Linked DNA regions of Homo sapiens: all the other regions are linked to region 6. Evidence: promoter capture Hi-C in 16 types of primary human blood cells and fetal thymus (Javierre and others, 2016). All regions are on one chromosome and are shown on one strand. The core of a region is centred on a gene start or on the middle of the fragment in contact, and the rest is flanking DNA. Distances in the headings are between cores, read along the strand shown.

Region 1 (3,153 bases), core at 260-2,759, 410 kb before region 6:
AAGGCACAAATGAATACCAATAATTTTAAAAGGGACATAACTTACAAATAAAGTAGAAATTTACAGAGTATGAAAACACTAGGAATAACATTTGACAATATATATAAAATTGAATAATCTAGATGAAATACACAATCTCACAGAAGTAAAAGTAACATCAAAAGATTTTCAAGAATAAATAAATGTAAATTAGATCCATAACCATAAAAGATCAGTAGTATAACTCTACCCATCACCACCTCCCAATCAATCAATCAATCAGCAAATACCAAAAAACACTAGGCCCAGATGGTTTTACAGGTGAGTGTCACCAAATATTCAAGGAAGAGATCATTTCAAACAAAGCTTTCCAGAGAACAGAAAAAAGAAAAGTGCCACTGAATTCATCATATAAGGAATGTAACACCTTGATACAAAGGACAGTATAAGGGAGAAAAATTGAAGCCTATATGACTTATAAATACTGATGCAAAGCTCCTCACAAACAGCAACAAAAGCAAACCAAATTCAGCAGTGTGAGTTGTTCTTTAAAAATGTAAATGAACAGACAAGTTACAAAGTGCAAGAAGAGGTATGCAACATACATACCTAACAAAATCAACAACCAAACAGAACGATGGGCAAATTACACAAGCAGAGAACTCACAGCGAAGAAAATCTGAAGACGCAATAGATGTGTGAAAAGATACTTCAATCTCACTGATAATTAGAGAACTGCAAATTAAAACAACATGGTCACATTTTATACTCATCAAAACTGGTGAAAATGTAAAAGTATAAATATAAGTGCTGACAAGGATGTCAGGAAAGAGGAACTCATAAACTGCTTACAGAACACCTTGTTACAATTCCTTTCAAGAGCAATTTGGTAACAGGTAGAGGTGAGGAAGTCCAGCCCAGCAATGCCACTTCTAGGTGGTCTGGGTGAGAGAGATGCTCCCATATTTTGTACAAGAGGAATATTTATTGCCGCATTGTTGGAAATAGTGGCAAAAGCAGAAGCAATTTCACTGTCCTTCAGTATGGGAATACATATTTACATAAAAGTTTAAGGCACGCGAAATAAAAGTACATGTTACAGATAAACATATATGTAATAAAAATATGATACATATTTGAAGAAAAGATTACCTCTGGGGAAGGAGAAAATAAATAAGAATGGTATTCTACCTGTATCTGTTATGCTTTATTACTTTTTTCAAAAAGGGGAGATATGAAACAAATATGGCAAAATATTAACATCTGTTTAATCTTGTGAGTACATGTGTGTCCTATTATTTTGATACATCTTATTTTGAAAAAAAGAATTTAAAATATAATAAAGTTAAGAAATACACCAATGCATTATTATTAAATTTGCATTAAAATTTTTTTTTACTCCCAAGGAAAAAAGCTTTTCTACCTGAATTGTTTTGTTTTACATCAGGGTCTTTGCATTCCTAGGCTCTGCCCAGGAAACCACATTTGGCATCCTTGATGGCCAACTATAGTACTGAGCTCTGAACTTCCAAGAACACCAAATGATTTTTTCCAATCTGGGCTAAGAAGCGCTTTTATTCAAACACAAAGCAATTTTGAGGGGAATCTGGAAGTACTAGCACTAGTTGTTCTTAATTACATACTAAGAAGCTTCTTACTAAATGACTTCTTTTTTGAAGTTAAAATTAAATAACCCTGGCTAAAAGTTAATAGCTATTCACCAGTATTCTTCAGTCAAGATATCTGAGAATAATAATAAGCATTACTGCCATTCCCAGCTCAGCCCCAATAAATCCACAGCCTGAAAGTACTAGAGCTCAACATTTTCTCTGGAACCTGAATGTCACTGAAAGAGCAACTGCCAGCTATTTCTGTCCTTTCTATCAAAACAAATAATAACAATGGCTAACACTTTTTAAGTACTTAAATTACAAGCTAGGAACTGTCTGAAGACCTTGATAACTTTGTCCTCATGACAACCTTTAAGATGTGGGAATCTTATCACCCTATTTTCCAAATAAAGAAACTGAGGCACAGAGAAAGTCAAGAAGCAAAGATCTAAAATATCACTGACCAACCATACTAGATTTGGATAGGGAAAGAAAATTTCCACTATGCCATGGGTTGTAAAAAAAAGGCACACAAGTAATGTTAAAAATTATTGGCAATTGGCCATCAGAAACACAGTTAATAAAAAATGATATTCTACAAGCAGCTGCTTCCTCTGGTTGTGATGTCATCATAAATCCTTAAATAAAACAGAGAAAGTAGTATTCTACTGTAGCACAAGAGAAAAGCAATTGACTAAATATCTGACAGTGATAAAAGAACAAAAATGTGAAGACAGTATGGGGGTAGATGGCATTTTAAAGGTACACTGATTATTTGGCATGCTGGATGTTCACAAACACACAGTCAAGTATCAGCTATCCTGCTTTCAAGGGCTTACACCTCTAAGTATCTTCTTACTCATAATGAAATCAAAACAAAAGCACAACAACATATTTCACCAAATCAGCATACGTTATTAAAAATACAAAGCTGGGCACTTACAAACTGCTGAGGGCTCCAGTTCATGGAGATTAAAGGAAACCATACTAATAACGGCCTTATATGGTAAAGATGAGGAAACATCATTCTGAAAGACATTTTGCACTAGGATCTAATAAGAACACAATTCTCATTCGTCTGCACGACACATACTGATTTATCATGTAGTGAACAAACCAAAGAATCCATGTATAATTAGCTAGATTGTGAGGGGCCACTCAGAAAGACATCCACCACATGTCATGGTGACAACACAGTTTACCTGAACCTCTAAGCAGCAAATTTAAATGAATGCAGAGGCTGAAAGGAAGATGTACAAGAATTAAAGCCAGCTTTTAGATATCTTTTTAAACTAAAAAATGAATTATTTAAGAAACTCCCACCAATCTTCTAAAGCTTAGAGATAGAAAAACTTCACTTTACTAACAGATCAGTCCACTATTTCACTAGGGATAAATCACCTCTGTTGCTTAATCTAGAATATTACTACTTTTCTGGCATGAAATTGAAGTAGTTTAGCTGAAAATGTAATAGCCATTAGACTCCTTGCTTTAAATAAATTTTGATTCATTGATTACTTACTAGTCCCAATCACATGCCATAGGATAGCTTTTGTTATACCTT
Region 2 (3,148 bases), core at 418-2,917, 300 kb after region 6:
GCCAAATGTTCTAATAGTTATTTAACATTCAAAACAATGACTACCAAAAAAAAAAAAGGAAACTTGAGCAATTTTTTCTTGCCCAGGCTTTGCTGAATTTTCTAGTTTTTCTCCCTCTTGACTTCTAGGCTAATATTTAGATTCTGCCTCTGTTGTCTTGGTGACTCAGCTATTCCACTTTCTAAGTCACTTATAAGCCTTTCTGCATCACCACCATATATATGTTGAGACAGGGTCTCGCTTTGTCACCCAGACTGGAGAGCAGTGACACAGTAATGGATCACTGCAGCCTCCACCTCCCAGAGCTCAGGTGATCCTCCAACCTCAGCCTCCTAAGTAGCCAGGACTACAGGTACACACCACCACCCTGGCTAATTTTTGTAATTTTTATAGAGACAGGGTCTCAGTGTGTTGCCCATGCTGGTCTCGAACTCCTGGGGCTCAAGCGATCTGCCTGCCTCAGCCTCCGAAAGTGCTGGGATTACAGGGTGTGAGCCACCATGCCCAGCCACCACCATGTATTAAAAGCCGAAATGGCTTTGGAACTCTGCCTCGTATTCAGGTTATATTCCTGGGATACCTTCATGCTTTGGTGTCTGATCTTGAAGATAAAGCACTTCTCATAGTTTTACCTCTTGTCCTAAAGATATCACTGAAGTTTGTTAATCTCTTTGGTTTCCTGCCACTCCATTTTTAGTATTCTAGGTTTTGAGGGAAAAAATACATGAGATCTTACTCTATTTATTGAATTGAATTATTTAGTATTTAGACAAGATTGTTATTTTCATCTAGAGTTAATAGAACGTCTCTTGGAGATGTAACTTAGTAGCTGGCTTATTCTTATAAAACATGTTGATGGATTAAAAACATAAATTTGGTGAACTTTAAAAAATATTTTCAGGCCAGGCGCGGTGGCTCACACCTGTAATCCCAGCACTTTGGGAGGCTGAGGCAGGTGGATCACGAGGTCAGGAGTTCCAGACCAGCCTGATCAACATGGTGAAACCCCGTCTCTACTAAAAATAAAAAAATTAGCCAGGCGTGGTAGTGCTGCACTTATAATCCCAGCTACTCGGGAGACCGTGGCATGAGAATCGCTTGAACTTGGGAGGCAGAGGTTGCAATGAGCTCAGATCGTGCTACTGCACTCTGGCCTGGGCGACAGAGCGAGACTCCATCTCAAAAAAAAAAAAAAATTCTCAAATTCTTCCTTTTAGCTCTTCTACTATTTGAGTTTTGATATCTAGTACACTCTATATTTGATTAGTCAGTGGGTCGTGGTAGAGGATTTTTTGTTTTTTTGTTTTTCGGGTTTGGGTTTTTTTGTTTTGTTTTTTGTTGGTTTGTTTTGTTGTTGTTGATGTTGTTGTTGTTGTTGTTTTTGAGACAGAGTCTTGCTGTGTTGCCCAGCCTGGAGTGCAATGGCATAATCTCGGCTCACTGCAACTTCTGCCTCCCGGGTTCAAGCAATTCTCCTGCCTCAGCCTCCCGAGTAGCTGGGATTACAAGCATGCACCACCATACCTGGCTAATTTTTGTATCTTTTTTTAGTACAGAAGGGATTTCATCATGTTGGCCAGGCTAGTCTCGAACTCCTGACCTCAAGTGATCCACCCGCCTCAGCTTCCCAGAGTGCTGGGATTACAAGCATGAGCCACTGTGCCCCGCCTATGGAAAGGGTTTGATATGTGTTTGAGCTCATTGTCCTTGTACCACAGTCTGGATGTGGCTTCCTGGAGATGGAGCACCTCATTTTTCTTCTTTGGTGGGTGTCAGAGTCAAGGGAAGTACCATTAAAACGAATTTGTTTCCGTCTCACTCCTCCTCCAGCTACGCTATAGCCGACAACGCTTACCGAATGATGTGTGCTGAACTAAATAACCATTTCATCCTCATTTCTGGAGAGAGTGGGGCAGGGAAAACAGAGGCCTCCAAGAAAATTCTCGAGTATTTTGCAGTGACCTGCCCAATGACCCAGTCACTACAAATAGCCCGTGACAGACTGCTGTTCTCCAACCCAGTGCTGGAGGTAAGCGATCTCTGGGGACCAATCGAAGGGAGTTCCAGGGAGGTCACTAAGTGAGACAAATCCTGTCTGGGCAGGTCAGTCAAAATGGGCAGGTCACTGTTAAGAAAAGAGGTCACACAGATAGTGTCACAGTTAAGGGTGTGACCTGGAACTAAGCCCATTTCCCCATTTGTTGAATGGGTCTGCTTATAGTACCTACCTTTTAAGACATTTGGTTTTTGTTTTGGTTTCGTTTTTTTTTTTTTTTTTTTTTTTTTTTTTTGAGACGGAGTCTCTCTCCGTCACCCAGGCCTGGAGTACAGTGGCACAATCTCGGCTCACAGAAACCTCCGCCTCCTGAGTTTAAGCAATTCTCCTGCTTCAGCTTCCCAAGTAGCTGGCACTATAGGCACGTACCATCATTCCCAGCTAATTTTTGCATTTTTAGTAGAGACGGGGTTTCGCCATGTTGGCCAGGCTAGTCTGGAACTCCTGACCTCAGGTGACCTTCCCTGCATCAGCCTCCCAAAGTGCTGTAATTACAGGCGTGAGCCACCACACCCAGCCTAAGAAGTTTTGAGGCTTAAGTGAAACAGATGCACAAAAAACACACAGCAGAATTAGGAAGCACCAAAAATAATGTATTATTTATTAATAGTTTTCTTATTATTGAGTTAAAATTATTTTGGTTATGATTACTTCCACTATTGCAATTCACTGACTTGCTGAACAAGTCATTTTCTCCTGTGTTTTTGTGGCCCTTTCTATAAATGAAGATGTTTATAGTTGAAGGAATTTTCCCAGTGGACCCTTTGAGCAGAGCAACGGTGGTATAAAAAGGGGTCTGGTGATGGGGGCTGTCCACTGTACCTTCTAGAACAGCATGGGGCTAGGGTTCTATGTACCCCTCCTGAGACCATTTCCAATATATTCCTAATTGGATTCTAGGAAGAAGATATTGTTCCCCTTTTCTCCCCGGGTCCAGATCTAGTGTTTGGCATTAAATTCTCTGTAGTTAGCGATTCCTTCTTAGAAGATAAAGCATGCCTTTCCTCCCTGGCTCCTTCCGCTCTCTCTCCTCCATTTTTGTAATAAGTGTATTATTTGGGGTCAGGAATTTGATACGCATGGTGAGCTTAA
Region 3 (2,904 bases), core at 211-2,710, 500 kb before region 6:
CCTACCCACAACTCTGGGACCCTTCCCTTCAGTCCCCAGCCTCTCTGTGGTCCCGTTCCCCTCAGGGTCTGGCCCCCATGCACTGGGTGGCCAAAGTGGCTCCGCGCGGCCACAACCTGGTGGTTCAGGGGCTTTCTCAAACCTTCCGCCAGCCCAGCTCTACCTTATTCTGCAAAAGATTCCTAGCAGGGCAGGCGCAGTGGCTCACGCCTGTAATCCCAGCACTTTGGGAGGCCGAGGTGGGCAGATCACTTGAGGTCAGGAGCTCAAGACCAGCCTGGCCATCATGGTGAAACCCCATCTCTACTAAAAATACAAAAATCAGGCAGGCATGGTGTCGTGCCCCTGTAATCCCACCTACTTAGGAGGCTGAGGCAGGAAAATCGCTTGAACCTGGGAGGCGGAGGTTGCAGTGAGCCGAGATCGCGCCACTGCACACTCCAGCCTAGGTGACAGAGCGAGAACCTATCTCAAGAAGAAAAAAAAAAAAAGATTCGTAGGGTTTGAAGCCTCCAGGTCTCTGAGCTAGGCAGGGGTCATGGATGCCAGGGGCATGCATGGACAGCCCCCTGTGGCTGCCCTCACCCCCAGGCTCCAAGCAGGAGCCAGGATGGGCCCCAGGGTGGGGAAGTCCTGGTTCCCAAGACAAAGCTGAGCTGCCGATGCGCCCCGCCCCCACTAGATGGGAACCAGATGAGCCGGGGGCCTCCCTGCCCTGATGGAAGGCTGCTCCCGGGTGAACCCCAAGACCCCACCTGGCCCAGACAGCCCGGCTGATGAATTAATTCCTCATAGCCAGAGTTGACAGAGGAGCTGAGTTTCAAAACACTGTCTCTCCCAGCCAATGTGAGCTGGGGGCTCCCAGCTGCTCAAACCCAGGGACAATTCACTGCACTGTCCTCTGAGAACCCCTGCCCGGCCCAGCAGAGGGCTCAGGTCCCGGAAGCGGGCTTGGGTCTAGAAGCTTCAACACAGAAAAGCCTTAGGATCTCCTGTCCTGAGGCCTCAGGGAACTGAGGTGGAGAGACAGAGGCCCGGAGAAGGCAAAGGGCAGGCCCAGGGCCACACAGCAAGTTCCGGGCTGGAGGAGGAAGCCAGGCTCCCAAGGCCTCGGCTGCGGTCACATCTCCAGCACCTGGGCCTCAGGGCCTGCTTGGTGAAGCAGAGGACACTACCTTCCCCACAGGTACCGTGAGGATTCTGGAGGTGAGGTAGGAACCAGGTTGGGCCATTGAGGGGCTTGTTCCAGGTGACCTGAGGCTTCTCTGTGACACAGCTTTCATTGAAATGGATCGCATCAGCTGGGTGCGGTGGCTCATGCCTGTAATCCCAGCACTTTGGGAGGCCAAGGTGGGAGGATCACCTGAGCTCAGGAGTTCAAGACCAGCCTGGTCAACACGGCAAAATTCTGTCTCTACTAAAAACACCAAAAATTAGCCAGGCCTAGTGGCGCACACTTGTGGTCCCAGGTACCGAGGAGACCGAGGTGGGAGAATCGCCTGAGCCCGGGAAGTTGAGGCTGCAGTGAGCGGAGTTGGCACTGCACTCCAGCCTGGGTGACAGAGCAAGAACCTGTCAAAAAAAAAAAGAAAGAAAGAAAAGAAAAAAAAGAAATTAAATGTGAACAAACTGGCTTAGATGGAAAAAATAAAAAAATAATTCCAGGACATAAAAAGAGGCAAAATTGGCCAGGTGTGGTGGCTCACACTTGTAATCCCAGCACTTTGGGAGGCCGAGGCCGGAGGATTGATTGAGGGCAGGAGTTTGAGCAACATAGTAAGACCCCACCTCTACAAAAAAATAAAAAAGTAGCCAGGCCTGGTGGTGTATGCCTGTAGTCCCAGCTACTTGGGAGGATCGCTTGAGCCCAGGAGTTCAAGACCAGCCTGGGCAACATAAGGAAACCTCCATCTCTATGAAATATATTAAAATATTTCAATTTTTTAAAAAAGAGACAAAGCTTCTCAGGGGCTCATTTTAAATGAGCTGGTCACCTGTGCTTTCCTCGCGGGTACTCATCTAAGCCCTTTTCATGCCTTTAATCCTACAGGAGCCCTGAGGCAGCTTCATTATCCCCATTTTACAGATGAGGAAACAGAGGTTCAGAGACAGACAGTGACTTCCCCAAGGACACACAGATGATAAGTAGCTGAGCTGGGATCTGAACCTTCCTCTGTCTGATCCCAGGAGTTTACACGCACATTCACACAAACCACACTCACACTCATACACAGCCATACATACACATGCACACTCACCACACACACAACCATTCATACACGCCACACACTCACACACACATCCCCATACACACCCCACACATAATCATGCACACACGCCACACACACACACACCCATATACACACATGCACAGACTACACAATCATACACACATGCACACACACCACACACAACCATGCACACACATACCACACACACACTCACACACCCATATACACACATGCACATACTACACACACAATCATCTACACACATGCACACACACCCCACACACAAACATGCACACACGCCACACATACCCATATACACCCCACACACAACCACGTACACACATGCCCCACACACACCCCTATACACACATTCACATACTACACACAATCATACACACATGCACACACCACACATATATGCATACACTCCACATACACACAACCATACACATACACCACACACACTCACCTACACAACCACACACACATGCACACACCACACACTCTGAGCCAGGAATGGCTTGTTCCCGCTGGTGGACATCACCTGTCAGATGCTAAATGAGGAAAGGACCCCCTCACCTCTCTGGCACCTGTTAGCAAAGGTTCCTACAGACAACCTTGAGCTTTGGGGTCTGTGACCTGCCAGTCACCTCCCTGCCTCCCACCCCCAGTC
Region 4 (3,150 bases), core at 283-2,782, 450 kb before region 6:
GCTAACCAAATGTTGCTGCACCATTTCAAACATCTCCACTGATTTATGCTTATCTTAATAATTATTAACTTATCACTAATACATTAATTTTAATAATGCCTTTCTGGGAATAAATACATTTATAGGAAATTTCTAAATTCAGAAAAATAGGATTAAATAGAAATTACACACAACTTTACCTCCCTATAGCAATAACAACATTTCTGGTATTTATTCTACACATAAGTATACATTGTATATGCATATATCCTTTAAAAAGTTTGTCACAAGCCATCTGTTCGGGGTTGGTTTTACATATCTGTATTAGGAAACCTACACCTCTCACTAGAAGTTCTGGTCCTGAATGTTCTTATGAGGTCCAATGGACTTCACTTTCTTCCCCATTTTACTTCTGAATGGATTAGCCAACTAACATCATTTACTGCAGAGTGACTCCATGGGGTAGAGAGCTGATGAGAATTACTTTGTAAACACACTTTTTATGCTGACATCAGCAACACAGTTCACTGTAGGGCTCTTGGCATACACAGAAAAAAGTTGGTAGTGACATCCAGCACCCAGAAATAATATACTTTCATGTTTCAACCTAGGTAGGTATATATTTTAAACCCAAGTTGGAATTGACTTTATTTTACTATTTTTTTAATGTTTCCTATTCAATACTCTTTTTAAATGACTTTAAATAATGGAACAGAATTATAACATATGGATATGACAAGTAACTTACTGACCCCCTTCTGCAGAGTTGATTTTACTCTTCTAATTCCTGAATATACCTCCCACTAGTTCCCTGGGACAAAATTTCCAAAGGTGAGAATCTTGGGTCTTAAGAAAACCTTTAAGGCTTTTGATCCACTTGCCAGACTGCCCTCTGGAAAGGCTGTCCACCCCGCACATACCCGCTTTTCGCAGGAGAGGACTGCCACCCCTACATTCTTTGGCAAGGGACTTCTTTTTAACGAATAAAAGAGCACAAAGGGCACTGTCCGGCCTGGACATCAAGGGTTGCCCGTCTGAAGCAGGAAAGGCGTGCCCTTGACGGTGACTCATGTCCGTGACCCACTGCCAGCACTGGGATACTTAATGTGCCCGCAGAAAGAGAAGGGCCCACTTAGAGTTAACAGATTCTTAAGAGCCAACAAAGAGTTTTTCTGGGTGTAGAATACCAAGTACAGCAAGGGAAGTGACCTTGAAAAAAAAAATGGAAGTTCCCCCCAGACGAGGTCTGGCTGGCTGTCTGGGGCCAGCATGCTGACCTTCAGGTCTTCTGGCAAAGAATCAAGGTGGCCCGAGTGAGAAAACAAGTTAGTCATAAACAGACCACCACGCGTCTCCTGGCTGACTGCGGGCACCTCGGGTCTACAGAGAGCCCTGCCAACTTCTACTTCCTGCAGCCACGAGTGGACCAAGAACATGGCAGCCATTCTTCTCATAGACTAAAGCAACTTTAAGATAAGGCATTTGAGGAAGGGGAGCTTTATGCTGACCATTCATCATATTCAGAAAAAGCAAACAGTGGGAAATTCTTTGCTACAATCACTGAAATGTCACGAGACAATGTCATAGTGCGAAAGGGAAGCCCTGCAATTCAACTGACCCTGGAAGCCTGCTGGAATAAAAGTCACAGCTGAGCCAAGAGAATTTTGCTTCTATTGAAGAAAAAGTGCTTTCAAAGACTCTGTCAGAAAATCAACTCATAATAGTAACAGTAGCGGCCATGCAGCGAGGGTTGTTTGTGTGGCCACACAGGTATTCCTCTCATCTGAACTACATGGAATTATCATCCTCCTTTCAAGAAAAGGGACTCAGAAGGATTAGGAACCCCATCCCAGGACACACCGCTGGCAAAGGTCTGAGGCAGGATCCAAAGGCTCAGGTCTGCTGGAAGCCAAAACACAGTGCTTGACTGGCTTGGAGACCTCACTTGTACTTGAACTGAGCCACCCACACGCGCTTCCCCTGTACTTACCCCCGGAGAGGAGTATGGCACCGTGCTCGTCCACCAAAGTCAGAGAAGCTATGTCAGGCAGAGAGGTGGGGGCTGCCTCACAGACAGCCAAGGCGTGAAATAAACACAAACACCATTTTGTAATCAATGATTTTTATCTCTGAAAATGGAAGCAAGTGTTTTGACAGAACACTATGGCCACTCTATAAGAGCCGACCTAGGAGTAATTCACTGTCCTCTTCTGGGATGTCATGGCTTAAAAAAAAAAAAAAAAAAAGACAAAACAGGAAAATAATCCACAATGCTTTGGGCGCCTACTCTGAGCTTGGCTGGGCATCCATTCATTAAATAAGTCATAAGCTACAAACTAAGATCAGGGTAACTTTCCCTTGCCCTCCTGCTTCTCTTTGAACCACATGCCCTACGGTGTTTCACCACCATCAACAACTTTACTTCATTAATTCGATATCAGAACCTTAAAACACTACTGAATCTTAGACAAAAGGTCCTCAGCAGATTACATTGATAAAGAAACAAATACAGATTTGAATATAAGTCATTGCCATTATTGTTTTCTTTACATCTCATGATCCACTTCAATATTAAACACATACATACACACACACAAAACCACATCAAACATTCAGATGCCCTGAAATTGTGGAGACAGCACTCCCAGTATTGGCTGGATAAGAACATGGTCCTTTTTCTACACGGACATTACTCCAAGTTCGGCTGTCACCACACTCTGCCCTCACCCTGGCTCCCTGCATACAGACGTTTCCAGCCAGTCCCATGCCCACACCAGCACGAGCATGTGCAAGAATTCCCTTCGTGGTCCCAATGGCACTACACATTTCACGTTCAATCACAGACAGCCCTTCCAAAACAGAGGCTCCTTAAATCTTGTTTCCCAAGCATGCACTATAAGAAACTGGAAACGGGGCAAAGTTCCAGCTAACCGAGGAATGAACAGGTGACCAGAGCTCAGTCTCTGGCCCCCTCCGAGTCCGGGGAGCCTCTGTGCTTTGACGCAGCCTTGGTGAGAGATGGAGAGGCAGGGCAGGTTAGTTGTGCGGAGGGACATGTTTGTATGCATTAAAGCTACAGCAGAGGTCTGTGCTCCTGTTTCTGCTTCACTCTCTATCATTCTCCTCAGTCTCAATACTCATTCAATCGCACCCTCTGGCCTTGTCTTAGCT
Region 5 (3,152 bases), core at 116-2,615, 430 kb before region 6:
ATAGTGCCTCCAGAATGCAGAGACAGTACACAGCAGGGCTGAGATTATGGGCTCTGGCCAGACTGATGTGACTGAATTCCTGATTCAGTCACATAGTGGTGTGACCTTGAGGACATTCACCTAACCTTTCCAGGACTTAATATTGAACCTGCCTTCTGTGAGGCGGTTTGAAGACTAACATGGTAACATGAAACTGACACATTTAGAAGAATGCCTGGCATAAGGCAGACACTGAGTGTTAGTTGGTATTATTGCACAGTGCAACCAATGCTATGCTGGCATAAGCCGACCGCACTACTACGAAATTAGCTTCCTGCTAACCAAGCTTGGTCCACCCAGGAGGGCTCCCTGAGGAGGTGACCTCTAAGGATGAACAAGACTTAGGTGAAAGTAGAGCAGAATATGAGGAGAAATTGAATATCCAGTCTCAAAATAAAACACGCAGATGTGTAGAGCAATTTTCTAAAAAGTGCATGCAGCATTTAAACAATGCCATAAAGAAGCTGGCTCAGGAGCTGCTAGGGAAAAAGCACCAGAGTGAAAAAGCTAATACTATAAGCACAAGGACTGCAATGCGAGAAGAAAGTGAGTGAAAAAGTCTCTGAAATGAAATAAGAAGACAACAGAATTCTTGTGTCCACTGGTAAAGAGGGGGTGGTGTTCTCTACGGTGGACTGTGGAAAGAGCTTGGGGGTTGGGGGCGGTCTGTAGGTCTTTCCACACTCAGCATACACATGCTCTGGCTGGCACCCAAAGGCCATGCTCACAGGCCTGTCATTATGTGGCTCTCTGCCCTCTTCAGGGTTGTCTGCTACTCTGGGTGATGGCCTGCTCGGTTTGGACTGATGTTCCTGCAGCTCAGGGACAACAACAAACAGAAGCACCACTTGGTACATGTTTGGTCCTCTTGTGTGTAATATGGGATGCTGGCCTGGGTGTCAGAAGACACAGGCTCCTGTCAGAGCTGGGACACTAATTGGTCATGTTAGCATTAAGAAGGGATTTCACTTCTGGGAGCCTGAATTTCCTTAATACTGGGGACAGCTGTGCTTACTCAGGGGTTATTAGAAGGGTTAAATGAGCTCAAACATTTTGCATGCCCCAAAGCACCACCCTAATAGGAAATACTGCAACTAGGGAGAAGAGCATGGGGCTTTCTTTGGAGCTAGACAGATCTGGGTCTGGCTGAGCCTTTTATCAGCTGTGTGACCCTTAACAAAACTGCCACTCTCTGAGCCTGTTTCCTAAGTTGTAAAATAGGCCACACTCATGGCTTACTGTGCGGATACAATAACTAAATATTATCATGCACATAAAGGCTTAGAATAGCGCGTGGCAAAAAAAAAAAAGAGCCTACCATATTTTCATGATGACTTTTTTTGCTGTTAATATGACCACTATGACGCCATATATATTTCTAGGTCTGAACATCAGAATTTCTTAGAATGAGTCTTGTCTTCAAATTAATTCAGCACTGTACCCAATTAATTAATACTAACTAATTTACACCCAAGATATCATTATGTGTGAAAGCTCTGGTTTATACCTAGGCCAATTACCACAGTAAGGACAGATCTGATCTCTGTGCAGGCTTGTTAGCTTTTCTTTGTTCTATGGCTACAGACTGGTACTGTAATACCAACCAGCTTTCTCAAAACTGTATGCAGTGAGTGCAGAGGAAAACAGACACAAAACACCCAGAGTAGGCATCTCAGTGCAGCAGAGAGTACAAGTTATCCCTACTTCCTCTTTTTTATTTTATTTTCTTAATTTAAATAATGCTGTGTGTTCCTAACATTTTCTGTTTGGACAACACATTACTATGGCAATGTTTTGTTTTGAAAGGACAAAAATGAAATCAGAGGAGCTGTGGTGGCTCAGGCCTGTTGTCCTGGTGCATAAGGAAGTGAGGCTCGGCGTTCAAGGCCAGCCTGTGCAACATAGAAACCTCTCATCTATATAACCAAAAAAATGACATTCAGTTCCAAGGGCTCCTACATGAAAAAGTGAATCCATCAGTAAAATCCCATTGTGGTTCTGGAAAAAAACAACTTTAAGCACATGTTCAGAACTACTGTACCATGGGCATCCTTTTCACATGTGAAAGCCTGGATATGGAAAAAGGACAACTCAAGAGAACAATCCCAACAAGAAAAAAGGAAAACTAAGACACTTGGGTTTCTCTCACGTGCTAATTTTAAAGTACAATTAGTTAAATAGTTTTATTTTTCAAATACTGCTTTCCAGACACTGCTTCCCTATTTTAGTCACCCATCATCAACTTGCTACTGGGCTAGGACTAGAGTTACAGCCATAAAAAGGGTTACACCCCCAAAAGACCCTATTTTTCCATTCCTAAGGAAACCAATTCCAAATGGGAAATGAAGAAAATACATGAGACAGGAGAAAGCTTAAAGATGTGGTAGCAGCTGCAGACCAGTACAGCGTCCTACAGACGCCCACAAAGGCCTGCATGTAGGGCATCAGGGCATTCCCAAATGAACCATGACGTGCAGAGTGGCACCGAGTTCGGGAAAACCAAGAACCGAGTGTTGGGTTCCGATCTGCCAGGGTTATAATATCCTCTGGCAAATGGCCCAGATGCAATCTGTACAAAATGGAATTAAGACGAAGCCCTCCCTGCTGAATGCCTGAGAGGAACCAAAACATCACTTCCATTTTTATTTCAGGGCAAAAACTATATTAGAAAGCATTAAAGCTCTTTTAAAAATTGTCTAGCAGGTTTTCCAGTCTTTGTCAAATGCCTTCCCACCCGCCAAAAAAAACTATATTAGGAAAATTTATAATGGAAGCAAAAATGGATTAGATAGGGTATTTTTGTTGATTTCTACAGAAGAATAAACTGATTTGAGAGAAGGGAGAAGCGTCCTTTAAACTTAAAAATTTGGACTATTCTATAGCTGGAGACAATTAAGACTATCATTTTGCAATATCTTTCCAACTCCCAGACTCTGGAAGGAACAATTATGCAATCCCATTGTCCAAATTAGCCATTTTTTGCATTTGTGTTTGATTACTACCCTGCAGATAAGGAACAATGTTGAATCAACATCATTCACTAAACTTAAGTTGACTGCTCTTTGTATTATTTAAAGCACTATTATTTTCTTGGAGCTAATATTTCCCCCAAG
Region 6 (2,945 bases), core at 121-2,620:
GTCTCGAACTCCTGTGCTCAAGCGATACGCCCCTCCTTGGCCTCCCAAAGTGTTGGGATTACAGGCGTGAGCCACCGAGCTGGGCCAGGCCCCAGGTATTGTCATGATGTAAAAATCTCTCTCTAGAAAAGAGAACACCAGCTTCCCAGCTGGTCTTCTGTAGCTAGGAGATGCAAGAGCAGCAGTTGAATTTGAGGTTTGCTTTGGAGAAAGAACCAAAAGCAGATATGGATGGTTTGGATGTGAGGGAGGGAAAGAGAATCCTAAGTGTATTAGTAGTGGTGGGAGGAGGTTCGGTACAGTGGTGTCATTTGGAAGACAAATCGTTGGTGTTTAACCTCTATGACCCGAAAGTCTCCCACAAGCCTGATACATTAGGCAAAATGTTTGACTGCACTAAGCCTTAGTTTATCGTCATAAAATAGGCCATGAAAATTGCGTGAGAAAATGTATATAACAGTTCAACAAATAATATTGGCTGGGTGTGGTGGCTCATGCCTGTAATCCCAGCACTTTGGGAGGCCAAGGTGGGCAGATCGCCTGAGGTCAGGAGTTCGAGACCAGACTGGCCAACATGGTGAGATCCCCCATCTCTACTAAAAAAATACAAAACACACTTGGGCAAACATGGTGAAACCCCATTTCTACTAAAAATAGAAAAATTAGCCAGGCGTGGTGGCGCGCGCCTATAATCCTAGCTGAGGCACGAGAATCGCTTGAATCCGGGAGGCGGAGGTTGCAGTGGGCTGAGATCACACCACTGCATTCCAGCCTGGGCGACAGAGCAAGACTCTGTCTCAAAAACAAAATACACACACAAAATATAATAGTATTTGTTTGTTTGTTTGTTTTTGAGATGCCTCGGATTACAGTGCGGGGATTACAGACGTGAGCCATCAAGCCCGGACAATATTATTATATTGTTCATTGCACTCCCACAACACCCCTAAGGGGCAGGAACTTTTCTTCCCAGCCCCCTCCCCCCGACCCCACCGAGAGACAGGGTCTCGCTCTGTCGCCCAGGCCTGGAGTGCATTGGCGCGATCAAAGCTCACTACAGCTCAGACCCTCTGGCCTCAAGCGATCCTCCAGCCTGGGCCTCCCAAAGCGCTAGGATTACAGGCGTGGGCCACCGCGCCTGACCAGTCTTCTCTTCTTGCAGCTGAGCCTTAAGAGCCTGTCCAAAGAGCAGAGGTGGGCTGAAGGCACAAAGCGAATGAAAGAATAGGCCCCCGGGCACCGTTGCACGCCCCACCTCCTCCCAGGGGCGTTGCACTCCAGCCCCTCCCGCACATGCGCACTGGGCCTTCCACCGCCCCCCGCCCCCAGCAAAGCCCCCCGCTCGGAGCATGCGCGGGCCGCTTGGCGCCAATTGCTGACCGCCACAGCCACAGCCAGGGCTAGCCTCGCCGGTTCCCGGGTGGCGCGCGTTCGCTGCCTCCTCAGCTCCAGGATGATCGGCCAGAAGACGCTCTACTCCTTTTTCTCCCCCAGCCCCGCCAGGAAGCGACACGCCCCCAGCCCCGAGCCGGCCGTCCAGGGGACCGGCGTGGCTGGGGTGCCTGAGGAAAGCGGAGATGCGGCGGTGAGGCGCGGCTTGGGCCGGGGCTAGGGGGTGAAGGGGGAGGAAGGCGGTGGGCCCCGCCTGACGGAGGGCGTGCAGGATCGCGCCTCTGACTCGGTAAACCCGGGCTCCGCTTTCCAAATAGCCTCCACGTGTTCAAAATAGCCGCCGCTGTCCCCCATGGGCCGCCATGCTAAAGGGCCAGCCAATGGGAACGCGTCTCGGGGCCCATGGCGCCAATCCGCGCGCCGCAGGCCCTCCTGGCTCGGTGCGCTGTCCAATCAGAGGGGAGAGGGGGCGGGACCCAGAGGGAGGTTTTTTGCCGCGAAAAGACCACGTGGGGACGCGGTGGGGCGGGTCTGGCGGGGGCGGGGCACCTCTGTGCAGGGTTCCCAGTCACCGCGACGCTCCTCGGGAAGCCATAGGGCGCCTCCCAGCCCGTCTCCCCGCTCCAGTTTAGAACCTAATTCCCAATTCCCGGACCGGGCCCAGCCCTGGGCTCTTACTGTCCGCTTTTGCTGGGACCTGTTCCACAAATGGGCGTCTTCTGCCTTGGGCCGTGGGGGTTGGGCCGGAAGCTGCGGACGCCTGGGAAGGGGCCGCTGCAGCTCTTGAGCCGCCTCTGCGGGGACCACTTGCAGGCCATCCCAGCCAAGAAGGCCCCGGCTGGGCAGGAGGAGCCTGGGACGCCGCCCTCCTCGCCGCTGAGTGCCGAGCAGTTGGACCGGATCCAGAGGAACAAGGCCGCGGCCCTGCTCAGACTCGCGGCCCGCAACGTGCCCGTGGGCTTTGGAGAGAGCTGGAAGAAGCACCTCAGCGGGGAGTTCGGGAAACCGTATTTTATCAAGGTAAATATGGAAATGCACCTTCCATAAGGGTAAATGTGGAGGCTGCCGGCCCTTTTGTCTTGTTAGTGTAGCCGGCCAAGTTCATGTTTCCGTAGGCTTAGGTTGTACCCCCTTCAACCTCCTTTACTCACAAAGGGGGTAAAAGAAAGCCATGATGTTTCACTCTGCAGCTTTATATTGGTTAAAGTTGTTAACGACCCGCGAGATGATATCATGGATTCATTTAAGTCACATAGTCTATTGTCCAGGAAAGGCTGGCGTAGTAAAATCACCAACCATCCTGAATGAAACCTGGCTTGAGCTTTAAAAAGCCGAGAGGAGTGGCACTGTCAGGACCCAGCCCAGAGAAAGAGGCAAGGAATTGACCTGATTGAACCACTTAGGTGGGGGGGCAGGCACTGTTTTTGTTTGTTGTTTTTTAAAAGAATTTGGACATAACATGACAAAGAACTAATGATGTTCCAAATAACTTGCACTAGAAGCTTTCTTATTGAATTCTTATGGTTTCCAATGAGAATCTGATTTTAAGTCTA
Region 7 (2,726 bases), core at 149-2,648, 470 kb before region 6:
CCATGGCCAGGAGAAAACTCAAATCTCTTCAGAACAGCCCTGCTCTCAGGAAGCTTATAGTCACTGAGTGTGCCTGTGGGTAGGACCACTGTCTATTCAGAGACTCTACATTGTCCTCCCTACTAGGTAGCCAGAAAAGACAGTGCCTCTTGTTTGGTCATCTCATTGATCTTTCTTCTTGGCATTGTGAACACCTGTGCTTTCTTGTTTTCTTTCTCTCCCCTCATGCTCTCCTTGGCACTGGCTGGTGTTTACAGAATTAAAAATTCTATGCTGAGAATCCTATGGTGAGTGACAGCCACGTTCTGGGGCAGGATTCAGGTATTCCTGCATTCCCTGGATATAACACCCTTCAGCAGCACACAACTTTTAGAATAGTGTCTGATGCAGAGTGGGCATTCAAGAATAGCACCCGGACAATTTCCAGTCTCTTCCTTTGTACTTCATTCACATGATTTGGAGGAACGAACAGTTGCTCATCATTCCTCGGGTGACTGTAACTCACTCACGGGCCCCTCACCTTCCAGCCAGGTTCAATCTGATCTCTTTCATATGTTAGTTAGAATTATGTTGGTTTCTTTTCTTTTTTTTTTTTTTTTTTTTCTCCAAGACAGAGTCTCGCTCTGTTGCCCAGGATGGAGTGCAGTGGCACGACCTTGGCTCACTGCAACCTCCGCCTCCCGGGTTCAAGCAATTCTCCTTCCTCAGCCTCCCAAGTAGCTGGGACTACAGGCGCACACAACTATGCCCAGCTAATTTTTGTATTTTTAGTAGAGACGGGGTTTCGCCATGTTGGTCAGGCTGGTCTCAAACTCCTGACCACAAGCAATCTGCCCACCTCGGCCTCCCAAAGTGCTGGGATTACAGGGCGTGGGCCACCGTGCCAGGCCTATGTTGGTTTCAAATATGCAAATCTGATCATATCTTAAACTAATTTATTTCCATTTATTTATTGACTTACTTATATTAGAGACAGATTCTCACTTTGTCGCCCAGTCTGGAGTGCAGTAGTGCAATTATAGCTCACTGCAGCTTCGACCTCCTAGGCTCAAGTGATTCTCTCACCTCAGCCTCCTGAGTAGTAGGGACTATATGCACATGCCACCACATCTGGTTAATTTTTAATTTTTTTTTTTTTGTAGAGACGGGGTCTTGCTGTTGTCCAGGCTGGTCTCAAACTCCTGGCCTCAAGCAATCCTCCTGCCTCGGCCTCTCAAAGCACTGAGATTATAGGCATGAGCCACCACACCCGACCCACATCTTAAAATAATTTCTTAGGCCAGGTGCAGTGGCTCACGCCTGTAATCCCAACTGTTTGAGAAGCCAAGGCAGGTGGCTTACCTGATGTCAGGAGTTCAAGACTAGTCCGGCCAACATGGTGAAACCCTGTCTCTACTAAAAATACAAAAATTAGCCGGGCGTGGTGGTGCTCCCTGTAATTCCAGCTATTTGGGAGGCCAAGGCAGGAGAATTGCTTGAACCTGGGAGCCAGAGGTTGCAGTGAGCCAAGATCACACCACTGCACTCCAGTCTGGGAGACAAGAGCAAAACTCTGTCTAAAAAATAAAAAAATACTTTCTTAAACCAAACTTTACGATATTTGCACCAGAGACATCTGGCCCTCACAATTATCCCCATTTTACCAAGGACCACACTGAGGTTAAGAGAAGTGAAGTGACTTGCCCAAAGACACACAGCTGGTGAGAGGTCAAGATCAGACTGAAACCCAGTGAGGTTCAGGAAGGCATGAGGCCGTCAGGAGACACCTGACCTAGTTGAGGAGACAGAAGGCTGGGCTTGTGGACTTGGGTGGGAGAGGGAGGGCAGAGTAAGAAAAAGGAGGAGCTTGAAAGTTATGTCCCCCAGAAAGGCCTGCCACATATTTACCGGGTGCCATGCAGGGCATAGGGTTGAAAGCATAGATGTGGGGTCAGACAAAAAGGATGTTCAAGTCCTAGCTCTGTCCCTTACAAGCTGTATGACCTTGACACAGATGCTTGCCTCCCTGAGCTTCAGTTTTCCCATCTGTAAAATTGGGATAAGAAACAGTGCCCATCTCACAGGGCTGTTGAGACAGTGCAACAAGGGGATAGATTCAAAAGTTCCAGGCTGGTGGGCATGGTGGCTCATGCCTGTAATCCCAGGACTTTGGGAAGCCAAGGCAGGCAGATCACTTGAGCCCATGAGTTCAAGACCAGCCCGGGCAACATAGTGAGATCCCCATCTCGACACAAATAGAAAAATTAGGCCAGTCACGGTGGCTCACTCCTGTAATCCGAGGACTTTGGGAGGCCAAGGCAGGTGGATTGCTTGAGCTCAGGAGTTCCAGACCAGCCTGGGCAACATGGTGAAGCCCTGTCTCTCGTCTCTACAAAATACAAAAAATTAGCCAGGAGTGGTGGTGTGCCCCTGTAGTCCCAGCTACTCAGGAGGCGGAGATGGGAGAATTGCTTGAGCCTGGAGAGATTGAGGCTGCAGTGAGCTGTGATCATGCCACTGCACCCCAGCCTGGGTGACAAAGCAAGACCCTGCCTCAAAAATAAAATAAAAAAATTTTAAATAGAAAAATTAGCCAGGCATGATGATGCACACCTATCGTCTCAGCTACTGGGGAGGCTAATGTGGGAGGATCGCTTAAGCCTGGAAGGTTGAGACTGCAGTGAGCCGAGATTGTACCACTGCACTCCAGCCTGGGCGACAGAGTGAGACCCTGTCTCAAAACAAAA

The links. The method cuts DNA at HindIII sites, captures the fragments that hold promoters and counts their contacts. A CHiCAGO score of 5 or more calls a contact.
Region 1: a fragment that was not itself captured here is called in contact with the fragment with the promoter of UNG in region 6 in 1 of 17 cell types (M0 macrophages); the score reaches 6.0 in M0 macrophages.
Region 2: a contact is called between a fragment that was not itself captured here and the fragment with the promoter of UNG in region 6, in 1 of 17 cell types (endothelial precursors). The highest score is 5.6, in endothelial precursors.
Region 3: a fragment that was not itself captured here is called in contact with the fragment with the promoter of UNG in region 6 in 1 of 17 cell types (endothelial precursors); the score reaches 5.7 in endothelial precursors.
Region 4: a fragment that was not itself captured here is called in contact with the fragment with the promoter of UNG in region 6 in 1 of 17 cell types (naive CD4 T cells); the score reaches 6.3 in naive CD4 T cells.
Region 5: a fragment that was not itself captured here is called in contact with the fragment with the promoter of UNG in region 6 in 14 of 17 cell types (total CD4 T cells, total CD8 T cells, naive CD4 T cells and 11 more); the score reaches 16.0 in total CD4 T cells.
Region 7: a contact is called between a fragment that was not itself captured here and the fragment with the promoter of UNG in region 6, in 8 of 17 cell types (total CD8 T cells, total CD4 T cells, activated CD4 T cells and 5 more). The highest score is 12.2, in total CD8 T cells.

Annotation. Positions count from the first base shown.
Region 1 is chr12:108,683,508-108,686,660 of GRCh38, forward strand. All of the region lies in intron 2 of CORO1C (coronin 1C), which reads right to left. Among named protein-coding and RNA genes, the nearest start is that of CORO1C, 46 kb to the right of the region's middle. The HindIII fragment of the contact is 236 bases long and covers 1,392-1,627 here.
Region 2 is chr12:109,394,554-109,397,701 of GRCh38, forward strand. MYO1H (myosin IH) reads left to right here. Exons shown (of 32, transcript NM_001101421.4): 4 at 1,831-2,029. Among named protein-coding and RNA genes, the nearest start is that of LINC01486, 37 kb to the left of the region's middle. RefSeq lists a silencer at 2,037-2,237. The HindIII fragment of the contact is 4,444 bases long and covers 1-3,148 here.
Region 3 is chr12:108,592,974-108,595,877 of GRCh38, forward strand. The region is part of intron 1 of TMEM119 (transmembrane protein 119); the gene reads right to left. Among named protein-coding and RNA genes, the nearest start is that of TMEM119, 3.7 kb to the right of the region's middle. RefSeq lists an enhancer at 674-1,340. The HindIII fragment of the contact is 996 bases long and covers 963-1,958 here.
Region 4 is chr12:108,643,025-108,646,174 of GRCh38, forward strand. It overlaps CORO1C (coronin 1C), which reads right to left. Exons shown (of 11, transcript NM_014325.4): 11 at 2,085-3,150. It overlaps LOC105369968 (a long non-coding RNA gene), which reads left to right. Exons shown (of 3, transcript XR_007063449.1): 3 at 1-3,150. Among named protein-coding and RNA genes, the nearest start is that of MIR4496, 8.8 kb to the left of the region's middle. The HindIII fragment of the contact is 5,234 bases long and covers 1-3,150 here.
Region 5 is chr12:108,665,740-108,668,891 of GRCh38, forward strand. The region is part of intron 3 of CORO1C (coronin 1C); the gene reads right to left. It also overlaps the pseudogene RNU7-169P. Among named protein-coding and RNA genes, the nearest start is that of MIR4496, 32 kb to the left of the region's middle. The HindIII fragment of the contact is 2,085 bases long and covers 324-2,408 here.
Region 6 is chr12:109,096,227-109,099,171 of GRCh38, forward strand. UNG (uracil DNA glycosylase) reads left to right here and starts at 1,371. Exons shown (of 7, transcript NM_080911.3): 1 at 1,371-1,585; 2 at 2,206-2,412. The coding sequence starts at 1,454. RefSeq lists a silencer at 1,550-1,939. The HindIII fragment of the contact is 3,702 bases long and covers 1-2,892 here.
Region 7 is chr12:108,625,546-108,628,271 of GRCh38, forward strand. All of the region lies in intron 1 of SELPLG (selectin P ligand), which reads right to left. Among named protein-coding and RNA genes, the nearest start is that of SELPLG, 7.0 kb to the right of the region's middle. The HindIII fragment of the contact is 2,694 bases long and covers 52-2,726 here.